Regions from separate parts of the Homo sapiens genome. Here region 1 is linked to region 2. The links are contacts of gene promoters, found by promoter capture Hi-C in blood cells and fetal thymus (Javierre and others, 2016). All regions are on one chromosome and are shown on one strand. Each heading gives the region's core, a stretch centred on a gene start or on the middle of the fragment in contact. The rest is flanking DNA. Distances are from core to core; before and after follow the strand shown.

The links. The method cuts DNA at HindIII sites, captures the fragments that hold promoters and counts their contacts. A CHiCAGO score of 5 or more calls a contact.
Region 1: a fragment that was not itself captured here is called in contact with the fragment with the promoter of MRO in region 2 in 2 of 17 cell types (neutrophils and monocytes); the score reaches 6.7 in neutrophils.

Annotation. Positions count from the first base shown.
Region 1 is chr18:50,896,243-50,902,305 of GRCh38, reverse strand. The region is part of intron 2 of ME2 (malic enzyme 2); the gene reads right to left. Among named protein-coding and RNA genes, the nearest start is that of ME2, 20 kb to the right of the region's middle. RefSeq lists silencers at 1,468-1,517, 2,360-2,560. The HindIII fragment of the contact is 3,215 bases long and covers 2,178-5,392 here.
Region 2 is chr18:50,816,422-50,822,969 of GRCh38, reverse strand. MRO (maestro) reads left to right here and starts at 2,954. Exons shown (of 8, transcript NM_031939.6): 1 at 2,954-3,073; 2 at 3,268-3,389. RefSeq lists enhancers at 2,750-2,799, 2,636-3,269. The HindIII fragment of the contact is 17,012 bases long and covers 1-6,548 here.

The DNA.
Region 1 (6,063 bases), core at 2,536-5,035, 79 kb before region 2:
GGAGAAGTTAAAATATAAACAAATAAATTAACAAAACCCTCAGAGAACTAATAACCAGAAAACCAGAGTTCCAGATACAAAGCTTGAGCATGTCCTTAAATCTTAGGGATGGAATCTACAAAATAAAGGAGTTATTGATTCTCTTCTTTAACACTCCTTCTCGAATTAAGTTAATGGTTTGCATAGGTATTTACTATGTACTTAGCTCTTTTAGTTCTGGCAATCTATGGTTCATTATTCTAAATAGAGTCCATTAGGATATTTGAATTTGGCTGAAATAAATTAAGAATCTGTAGTAAAATCTCTTCACAATCTTACATCTTGAAAAGAATACTTGGTTTAAAAGAGATGTTTAGTAGTATTACGGGAGGAACTAGAAAAAGAAAAAAACGTAGATAGCAGGAGTTACTTGAGAATTACTAGGTTATATCAATAGTGTTCAGGTGTTTTTTTAAAAAAATTTCAGAAGGACTCCTATACCTTTAGCCCACTGGGTCATCAATAAAAATGTTGGCATCTCTCTTGCTAAGGCAGCCAACACAGAGGCAGGAAGAACAAAAGTGAAAAACAAAATTGAGGGTCGGAGGCTATGTACATAGTTTAGAGTTGGCTCACCTTGTAATCAAACAATTGTACACTTTTACTGTTGTAATCATAATAGACCTCAGCCTGAATCCTTCCCAAATTTCTTGTTTGAGCACTCTACCCTATGGAAGCATTATTACAGTGTAAAAGAAAGTATCACTTATATCTACCTCTAAAAGCTTTAAATCCACACTAAAAATGAATAGCCAATTCATTTGTTATATATTTTCTCATCTCTCTGATTCAACCAAATATTTATTTTCTGGTACTCATTTCATACTTTAAAGCACATTTTATCTGTATCTTTAAGCCTTGTACAATCTAATATAAGACATATCCTGAGAGTAACAGAAATAATCTAAGACTAAAACAACTCTTTAATACAAATCAGACTCTTTAATACTGATTTACGTTTGTAATGAGAAATGTAAGATAGAAGGCAAACGATTCAGGAGATAGAATCCATTTACACACATTTATAAGCAGGAGATAAAATGCATTCCCTTAACCTCAATACGGATAGGCGCTATGTAGCCAGTGCCTCACTAGCACTCAAATGCTTGTTTAGACTTCTGAAAATGTGTTAATTGAGATGAAATTGCACTAAAAGGGCAAATTATAACTAAGTGGCAAGCTCTGTTCATCACAAATCCACAATTATTCACATCACATGTTCTATGGCTTATGTTGTTTTGGTACAGAAATTAGGTGTTAATACATAAATTTGAAATAAAATATACTCATTGTATTAGCCCATTCTCATGCTGCTATGACGAAATACCAAGACTGAGTAATTTATAAGAAAAGAGGTTTAACTGACTCACAGTTCCACATGGCTGGGGAGACCTCAGGAAACTTACAATTATGGTAGAAGGCCCCTCTACCCAGGGTGGCAGGAGAGAGAATGAGTGCTGAGCGAAGGGGGAAGTCCCTTATAAAGCCACCAGATCTTGTGAGAACTCACTCACTATCACAAGAACAGCATGGGGGAAACCACCCCCACGATTCAGTTACCTCCACCTGGTCCTACCTTTGACACGTGGTAATTATTAAAATTCAAGATGAGATTTGGGTGGTGATGCAGAGCCAAATCATATCACTCAACTGAAAACTTTTTAATGTAATTTAAAATTGTTCTTGGCTGGGCGTAGTGGCTCACGCCTGTAATCCCAGCACTTTGGGAGGCTGAGGTGGGCAGATCACGAGGTCAGCAGATCGCGACCACAGTGAAACACCATCTCTACTAAAAATACAAAAAATTAGCTGAGCATGGTGGCAGGCGCCTGTACTCCCAGCTACTAGGGAGGCTGAGGCAGGAGCATGGCATGAACCCAGAAGGCAGAGCTTGCAGTGAGCCGAGATCACGCCACTGCACTCCAGCCTGGGCAACAGAGCGAGACTCCATCTCAATAAATAAATAAATAAATAAATAAATAAATAAATAAATAAAATTATTCTTACTTTTTTCCTTCTTCCTCCCCCTATTCTTATTTAAAAAAAAAAACTGCATCACTCAATTTTTAAGACTTTGTAAGATGAAATGGGCTTTGTAATGCAAGCCATGAGGAGTGGCTGTAAATACAGATGAAGCTTCACTTGCTCAAAAAATGATAAGAAAACACATAAATCAGTACATGGGGAAAAGAGGTGTGAATAGGGGTATTTCCTAACTTGTTTTACAAGAGTAGGTAACAAAACTCCTATCTAATCCAAACTTATTTTCTGGAAACAAAACCTATGTTTAATTATCTGTGAAACTCCGAGCACCAATCATGTCAGATTTTGTTTTCCTATTTGCTCATCTGTTTATGCATTCATCCATCTACCCAGCATGTACTGAGGCTCTGTGTGTGCTAAGTACTGTGGGGTAAGATAATGAGGATACAGACTAAGATATGGTCATTGTCCTCAATGGAGGAATGAGATAATTCCAACTGAGTATGATACATGGTATTGACAGAAGTGAGCACAAGAATGCTCAAAGGACAGGGGAGTAACTCACCCAGTGTGGTGAGGAATTAGGAAAAAGGGTCACTGAAAACTTCCTAGAGCAGTGGTCCCCATCCTCTTTGGCACCAGTGACCAGTTTCATGGAAGACAATTTTTTTTGAGACAGGGGCTCACTCTGCCACCCAAGCTGCAGTGCAGTGGCACGATCTCACTGCAACCTCCACCTCCTGGGCTCAAGTGATCCTCCCACCTCAGCCTCCTGAGTAGCTGAAACTATAGGCATGCACCACAGTGCTTGGCTAATTTTTTTATATTTTTGGTAGAGACGAGTTCAGGCTGGTAGAGACCAGGCCAGGCTGGTCTCAAACTCTTGACCCCAAGCAATCCACCTCAGCCTCCCAAAGTGCTGGGACTACAGGTGTGAGCCACCACAGCCAGCTGAAGACAATTTTTCTTTTCATGTCTTAGTTGTTATTGAAGTCATTGATGATAGTTACATTTTCATGAGTTTTTATCTTGTTGACTCTATTTCAGGGGGTAGGGAATGGTTTCAGGATGAAACTGTGCCACCTCAGATCATCAGGCATTAGATTCTCATAATTAGTGTGCAACCTAGATCCCTTGCATGCGCAGTTCACAATAGGGTTTGCACTCCTCTGACAGGAGGCAGAGCACAGGCGGTAATGCAAGCCATGAGGAGTGGCTGTAAATACAGATGAAGATTCACTTGCTCAACCACTGCTCACCTTCTGCTGTGTGGGAAAGGATGCAGAGCTGAATTTCAGAAAATTATGAGAAAAGTTAGCCAAATGAGCATGGGGAGAAAAGGAGAAATCCAATTTTATACTTGTATAGCCCTTTAAATGTTTCCAAATGCTATTACCTATATTATTTACATGAAGAAAACTAAGGCCTAGAGAAGTTGAAGGGTTTGCCAAAGTTTCATGGCTAGTAAATGGTAAAGCCCAAATTAGCACCTAAACTCCTGCTTATAACCTAGCATAATGGTGTCCCACCTTTTAAAGTGTAAGAAATTTTGGCCAGGTGTGGTGGCTCATGCCTGTAATCCCAACAGTTTAGGAGGCCAAGGCAGGCGGATCACCTGAGCCCAGGAGTTCAAAACCAGCATAGACAACATGGCAAGACCTCATCTCTACAAAAAAATACAAAAAGTAGCCAGGTGTAGTGGCACGTGCCTGTAGTCTCAGCTACTCGGGAAGGTGAGATGGGAAAATCACCTGAGCCCGGGGAGGTCAAGGCTGCAGTAAGCCATGATAGTGTCATTGCACTCCAGCCTGGGCAACAGAGTGAGAACCTGTCTCAAAAAAATAAAATAAAATGAAATAATACTAGGTTTCTACTTGGGATAATAAAAAAGTTCTGGAACTAGATAGTGGTGATGGTTGCACAACACTAAATAAATTTAATGTCACTGAATTGTATACTTTTAAATAGTTAAAATTGTCAATTTTATATTATGCTTCCTTTACCACAATAAAAAAGTTTTATAAACAAAGAGCAGGTATACCTTGAGTATACAGTGATTACAGACATACATTTAAGAAGATTCAGAATTCAATACTGCCTTTAATTACTATTTTATTAATTACAGCAGCAACATATCCTTAAAGATAATATTTACAAAAATGTGAAAAGTTATTAAGTATACAATATTTGAAGCACAAATGAGATTTCTTTACATGGTAAGTTCCTGAGGAGTCTATAACCCATGAATTGGGAATCACTGGTCTATGTTCTTTAAACAAAAATAAACTCTTCCTGATGTTTAAGGGGTTTCCAGAAGTGGTCCTTCAATGATGTGACCATATAGATGCTATTCAATCTTAGGGATTTCAGAAGGCCAGAATGTTAGACATTCTTTTTTTTCTTTTTCTTTTTCTTTTTTTTTTTGAGATGGAGTTTCGCTCTTCTTGCCCAGGATGGCATGCAATGGCACGATCTCGGCTCACCGCACTCTCCACTTCCGGGTTCAAACGATTCTCCTGCCTCAGCCTCCCAAGTAGCTGGGTTTATAGGCATGCTCCACCACACTCAGCTAATTATGTATTTTTAGTAGAGATGGGGTTTCTCCGTGTTGGTCAGGCTGGTCTCGAACTCCCAACCTCAGGTGATCCGCCCACCTCAGCCTCCCAAAGTGCTGGGATTACAGGCATAAGCCACCATGTCCGGCCTAATTTTGTATTTTTAGTAGAGACGAAGTTTCTCCATGTTGGTCAGGCTGGTCTTGAACTCCTGACCTCAGGTGATCCGCCTGCCTCAGCCTCCCAAGGTGCTGGGATTACAGGAGTGAGCCACTGTGCCTGGCCGACATTATTTTCTTTAGGGAAGTATGGTAATGCACTTAGACTATGCTCCATCTGCAAACTTGTTTGACACTCAATGTACTTTATAAATTTCTTATAATCTCTAAGTCCCCAGAGTAGGTTTTAAATAAATTATTTCCATAAGTATAAAATATAAAACCAATATATTTATCAAATGCGCCCATAGCACTGTAAAAGATACACAGAAGTATTTGAATGGTCCCTGCCCAAAAGGAACCCGAAATATAGTCAAGAAGATATAAACTCAGGAAAATGTAACTACCATCAATGACTTCAATAACAGCTTAAACCATGAAAAGAAGCACAAAGCAACACCTATTGATTACTTGCCACAGGAACAGGAAGAAACTGCTATGGGGTTTCAGAGAAGGGAGTAATTACTCCAGTCCATGGTGGTGTAAAAAGGTTCTACAGGAGAACTGGATTTGAAATGAGGTGCATCTTAAAGAGCAAATGAGATTTGGAGAGGTCAGGCACAAACAAGAGAAGATCAGAATATCCTTCATTAAGCTTCATTTAACACACTAACTGCTTGCTGAACTCATTCTGTGTCATGTACCAAGAATACAAAGGTGAGGTGCTCTGTGTGACCCATGGTCAAATTCCCCTTTGTAGGCCTGAAACCCCTCAAAACTTATCATAGGATAACAATTAACAATTAACTATTTTCCCTGATAGTGGGAAACAAACGGGACTGGCAAGTTTTTTATGACTGTTCTTTTAAAATAAGTCACACTTTTCATTTGAATTTACCTTTCCCCAAAAGGTAAATTTCATATATTGCAATAAACTCAATGTATCCTCTTGCAATCTTCTTGTAAAAAAAATCTCTTCCCAGAACTTTTACTTACTATTTAATATTGCCACTAAAAAACAGGCAGGCACTTGTCCACCGAACCAAACATAGATGAAGGATGAAGTAATGACTGGATCTCAATATTGCACGTCACTTTTGTCACAAGAGTACAATAAAGAGCCAGGAGTCTCTCTATTTTGAAGCAGTCATCTAATCATTCTAATTAATGGGCACAATTTTTTGTGTGCAATGGTTTGTGTCCAAAAAGATAAGTGGAGGTGGGGTGATGTGGACTTTACATAAAGGTTCATTTCACAATTTTGACCCTACTTTCCAAGGGCCTAACTGATTAGCTCAGGGTGAGTACCTGATATGAGCTGGGGAAAT
Region 2 (6,548 bases), core at 1,705-4,204:
CTTATCAATTCCTGCCTTGCGCTGTGGGCACGTAAGCCCCAGTCCCAAGTCCTCTACTGGTTGATTCTCCTTGAGAGCGCAGTCCGAGTGTTGGTCCCACCTGCCGAGCACTCTGCCTCCATGGAAGCAGGATCTCAGTAAACACTGGAAGAAAGAAGGAAAGAATGAGAAGCTGCTAAACCCAACCTGTGGCTAAGGAGGTGGCTGATTTTACTTCTTTTTAGAAGTGAAAATCAAGACAGAGTTTAGCTTAGCTGGGGGGCGGGGGGCGGGGGGCGGGGGATGTATTTCCTGAAAGAAGATGAGAGGGAGGAAACTTAAATCTCTCTCTTTAAGATAAATTTCCTGGCAGGGCCCAGTGGCTCATGCCTGTAATCCCAGAGGCAGGCAGATCACCTGAGGTCAGGAGTTGGAGACCAGCCTGGCCAACATGGTGAAACCCCGTCTTTATCAAAAATACAAAAATTAGCCGGGTGTGGTGGCAGGCGCCTGTAGTCCCGCTACTCGGTAGGCTGAGGCGTAAGATTCGCTTGAACCTGGGAGGCGGAGGTTGCAGTGAGCCAAGTTCCCCCCACTGCACTCCAGCCTGGCTGACAGAGTGAGACCCTGTCTCAAAAATAAAATAAAATAAACTAAAAAAGATAAATTTCCTGATTACACATTGTAATACACATGTAATTCACATACAAGGTGAATTGTGGATTGCTTTAGCTTTGCCTGTTGCCCTTTTCATCAGTAATGCAGGCTAAATAATTACCCTCTTTGCTTTTTCCAGTTGTGCCAGCCCCAGTGTACTTCTGGCAATAAGGAAATGTTAATTGAGAATGAAAATAGAGTCATTAAATCCTTACATTAAATAATTATGGTGTGTTCTTTTAAGGACATCATGTTATAGATATGCAAATATGTTGCAATCAAATTATCAAACTTGCCCTCTAATTTCCAAAGAACTGTACTGTGACCCAGGGCCACATAAGGAGAATCTTAGACTCTTGTGGGCATCATGCGTTGATTTTGATGCTTCCCAAGTTTGTGCTGTGTCTGGGATTCTCTAGGGGCAGTTAGCTGCATCCAGGCCGTTTATGAGAAGTGTTTAGTAGAGCTGAGGTCAGCACAGTGCAAGTATCAGAAAGGCTCCTGGATATCAATTCCAGTTCTGGCCCTGATGTTCTTTGTAGTTTTAAGTCAAACAGGAAAATTTATCTGCATATTAGTTCTCCTATTTAACAGTAGAGAAGATACTATTTCTCTGTCAAATATCTTAAAACATGAATACAAAGAAACTTTAGACACAAGGGGTTATTAATAGTTTGTTGTGTTTCTGTTCATGGGGAGGAGGGGATGTAAATTTCAGTTCTGATTCACAAAGGAGATTTTGCAGAGAATCTTTACAATCATACTTTGGGCTTCCTTTCTCCAGTCTCCTCTGTTCTTCGGATAATCTTATTACCTTTTTGGTCATTCTAAGCACTACATGGATTAGTTCAGTATATAGATTATGGCCGTATAAACCTCATTCTCGCTCTTGGCAGATAACCTAACTCTGGTTTTACTGAAAAGATTAAAGCTAATTTGGAAGAATTGAACTCGCCCATTCCTCTCAGTTTTGTGTTGATGTATCTTCATCTCTGTGGCTGCCTCCCAGTTGCAGGCAGAGGCAGCCATCTTTCTTCCTCCTCCAGAGCTAACCCTTTCCCTCGTGCCCTTGATGCCCCCTCCACCTCTTCCTATTACCACTACTTGGCACCAGCCACATATTAGGGCTCCCTTGCAACCACTTTCAAACAAGGCCAGGCTTTATTCCATTTCAAAAAGCACACAAGAAAACCAAAATGCTTTTGCCTGACCTTGCTGTCTCTTCTAGTCTATTTATTGCTTTCCTTTTGCAGCAAGACATCTCAATTTCCTCTTTCCTCATAGCCCCTTAGTTTTGCAGTCTAGCTTCCTTTCTCTGTCACTCTATTGAAATTGTGTCCTCAAATGTCACAGTGGTTCCCTTGTAACTTAATCTGAAGAGGGTGGTGTTTTAGCCTCATTCTTCTTATTTTCTCAGCAGCATCGATTTTCTTTCTGCCTTTTTCTTTCATCTTCCACTCTGACATAGTTCTCTGGTTTATATTTTTCTGTTTATCTCCTGGGTTTTCTAGACCAGTCCAGTGCATAGCATCATGGCTGAGTCCAAGCTCTTACATTAGCCTGCCTGTAGCTGAATTTTAACTGCCACAAATTAACTGCATGACCTTTGTCAAGGTAATCTCCCTGTGCCTCAGTTTCTCCAGCCTTAAAATGGAGACTATAGTAGGAGTATTAACCTTTGGTTTGATGTAACAATTGAATGAGATAGTCTATGTAATATTTATCACAACATTTGGCACACAGAAGTTTTAATTGAATGTTATCTATTAGCATAACAATAAGTGCCTCTGTCTTTGAAAATATAACTGTTCTTTTTTCCTTTCAGGACATATTTTCTCCCTTTATGACCCAATGCAGAGCGAGACGATAACTAATTATTGTTAAATAGATTTATGCACGTGTTTGGAGAGTCAGGGAAGGAGGGCTGATGAGAGAGAGAGGCTCCTAAATTCTGCAGGTGCTGTAATTCCCCGGTTTTAATTTTGCTTTGCTTTTTACCAATAAATCATTTTGAGAGCTTAAATCGCTCCTTTCGGGACATACGGTGTTTCTTGAGCAGGAAGGGACGTCAACGGTTAAAGCTCTTGTTGTTGGTGCAACAATCAGCCACGATGAGGCTGCTTGGCATGGAACACAGTGTCCCATCCTTAGATTAAATGCGCTCTAACAGGATTATGTAAGGAAGGAGGCAGCCACGGCGGCGGCTTTGTGCAGGGGTCGCCTGGAACCCGTCCATTGAGTCATGCCGCCATCTCGCGGCCGCATGGGGAACGGGCCTTGGCAGGGAGGTTTTGTTTGGTGCAGAGGAAAGGTCCCCAGAATTGCCATCTGCAGAATTTCTGCAGAAAGTGTCGACCAGGCTGGCATGAGGGAAGAAGGAGGGGAAATCACAGCAAGGAGAAGGAAAAACACCTCAGCATGGCGTGGGGAAGCAAAGGTAGCAAGTCATGCTTGTGCCACCCTACAATATTCTTGTCGGTTTCATTCCAGAACAATTCCCTCCCCTGCCCAAATACTCTATAAACTTTGACTTTCCCCTCTTATTTGATTCTCACTTTCCAACACTCTGTGCCGACCCGTTATCCTGGACAGACCCTGCGTCACCTCCTAATTTCCCTTCTTGTATGTTAGGAATTCAGGGCTGGGAAAATTTAGCCGAGTCATCACATTTGGCTACTACCCGGGAAAGCAGCCCTCCCGAGTCAGGAACGGGCTCCGGTTCATCACGTGGCAGCCGCCTGCAGGAGCCGCAGGTAAGGGACACTGTTGGCCGGGGCAGCCAGATGCAGCGGGAGGCGTCCTGGCTGCACTTGGGTTCCCAAAACCTTTCTGGAATGTCACTCTGGTCACCAGTATGGGAGCTCGACCTCTAGGGGGTAGGATTTGGTAATGTTCTCTTTGTAAAACTGAAGTGGGCAATGTTGACCAGGAAGCTGATTTTGTTTGCTTTTCACAAACTATGTTAATCGATCAATAGTTGGGTTATAGATCATTCTATTGTCAGCAATATAATAGAATGGCAGGGACTCAGGGAAGATATTGACACTTTAAACTGAAATGTCTATGCGGTCTGTCTTCCCTCGTTCAGCTCACAGGACATTGCCTGGGAGCTGAACCTAGGCTTATAGCACAGTGACTGAAAGGATATCTTTCAGAGTCCTAAAATCTGCTCTGCCAGTATTTGACTTTGAGTTAATTGTTCAACATTACTTTAAGCCCAGTTTCTTCTTTTCTAAAATGAAGACGATTTTTTTAATATTAATTTTTTTTTTCATTTTTTTGAGACAGGGTCTTGTTGTGTTGCCCAAGCTGGGGTGCGGTGGCCCGATCTCGGCTCACTGCAACCTCTGTCTCCTGGGTTCAAGTGATTCTTCTGCCTCAGCCTCCTGAGTAGCTGGGACTACAGGTGTGCACCACCATGTCTGGCTAATTTTTGTATTTTTAGTAGAGGCGGGGTTTCACCATGTTGCTCAGGCTGGTCTTGATCTCCTGACCTCAAGCAATCTGCCTGCCTCAGCCTCCCAAAATGCTGGGATTTATAGGCATGAGCCACCACACGCAGCCTACTATTGTCATTTATAAGTTCAGTGTTGGAAGGATTTTTAAGCAATCTAACAGTTTCTTCTGCTCATTTTACAGATGAGATAAAATCAAAGTGTTTTATAATTTTGGCCTTCATAATATACCTTTTGGCTTCAATAAATAAAAGGATTATTGACCAAAAATCTAATATTTTGAGTCAGAATCATTCAAGTTTGCAAAAGCAGATGGGAGTCAGTGTAAAGCATAAAACAGTCTTCTAAGTTACCCCAAATCCATGTATCTTCAGTAAGATCAGGTAGAGCACAACCTGGCAATGAACACAAGCCCCAGCCGGGGTCTTGGGGTTCGTGAAAACCAAGGGGTCTGCACATAGCTCACTCAGGGGTATGTTCCAGAGGAAGAAGAATTCGTTGAAGAACGTGTGCAGAGATGAGTAAAACTATAAGCAGAGCTGTGTCTTTGGCTTCCAAATGGCCAGGTGACCTCCTGGTCTTGGTCATACAAGGCTAGGCATATGTGGTGACCATAGAAACCCACCAGAAAATGTAATTCTCCTAGGAAAGAATGCCTGTCTTACGGGTGAGAGGGCTTGGAGAAGGAGTTAGAACATCCTAAGAAATCTTGGAATCTGTATACTACGTTCATTCACAGTGTGTTTAAAACGATCCTCTCTGAGATCCTGTGTTGCAACAGATGAGAATGATCCTTTTGTTTTTGTTGGATTGGGTGTAAAGGACTTCATGTTTTAGAAAGGAGGGAGGCACTGCAGGCAGGAAGGAGGGCATGGGGCGGGGGGTGGGAGTTCTTTAAGAAGCTGCAAGTACAAGAAACACAAGGCTCCAGCGAGGGGCCTTGTGACCTTGATTTAACTCCTAATTTGTTTTATTTTTTAATGAAACTTTTAACTGAAGAATAGCATCCTAGAAAAGTTGCATAAATCATAGACAAACAGCTGCTGTGATTTTAATTTTATTTTTAAAGTGAAATTCAAAGTGCTTCACAAACATATGGTATCAATCTCTTGTTCTCTGCAAAGACACTGACCTCTTTCTCTTTCTCATCCCTCGGCCCCAGCTCCCTCCCTGACTTCCATGGTTTCTGCTACTGCATGGGCTCGGATTAGCTTTATTTAATTTCCAGGATAGAGGTTCTTCTATACCAACAGGCGTGTAGCATCACCAGGCACCACATACAAAAAGTGCAATGCTCAGGCCCGACACTCCCTGAGATTCAGATCCAATAATTCTGGGGCAGGCCTGGAGTTTATTGTTATTATTATTATTTATTTTTATTTTTTAGAGACAGGATCTTGCTCTGTCAACCCAGCTGGAGTGCAGTGGCGCAATCATGGCTTACGGCAGCCTCAGACTCCTGGGCTCAAGGGATGCTCAGCCTCCCAAAGTGCTGGGATTACAGGTGTGAGCCACTGCACCCACCTCTGGCTTGGAGTTTGTAACACGTACCCCGGGGAATTCTGATATAGAAGGTGCAACCAACACTGAGAAATGCTCTACTTTTCCTGCACCCAAGATTGAGATGATCCCTGACAACCTGTAAGATTAAACCACATCACAGTTTTTCTCTTGTGATGGGGAGGTAGGGTTTGCTAGAAGAGGTAGTGAGCTCAAGATGTAACTCTGTGAGTTTCTCTAATCACAGATCGAATCTTCCAGGTGGAGCCACTCAGTTCTCATTTACTTTGCCGTGCATGGGAGCATGACCTTGAGTTCTACTTACGCCTATGAAGGCGATGCTGGCTGCTTGGTTTCTGAAGCCTGGGGAAGTTGCCTTGGCTGGCTAAAGCCCTTAGCTGTTATGCTAATCTTGCAAGAGAAGTCAAGCAGAAAGAACAGGGTAGCAGGTTTGTTTTCTTTACCAATGGAAAGGAGCTTCAGGCATGATTTTCTTATGCCTTGGAACAGAGATACCAGCTGTTTTATAATGAGGCCCACACCCTCCTTGGTGAGTGGGCCCTCAGCTTGAGGGAGTTTTGCTTCTTTTATTTTGATTTTGAAATTTGAGATTTTTTCATTTGAAGGTAATCTTAATGCTATTAAATTCATAAATATGCTAATTTAAATACCCAATCCTATTTATTTAAAATAGACGTTGCAAGCGTACAAATATTCTCTCCACATGTCAGCACCCATTTAGATCATGGTTTGGAAATGGGGAGAATAGAATTCCCTTAAACTGCAAGTCAGCTGGTGTTTCTTTACAGCTAACGTTAGCAAAATTTATGCAAAGCAGTAATTCACAATGATCTTCTTTATTTGTTAACCCACAAGGAAACACCCTCAAAACTATTCTGTTAAAGTGTCTGTTCAGAAATGTGGAAAAACTGAACTATATAAATATTGAAAAGTTAA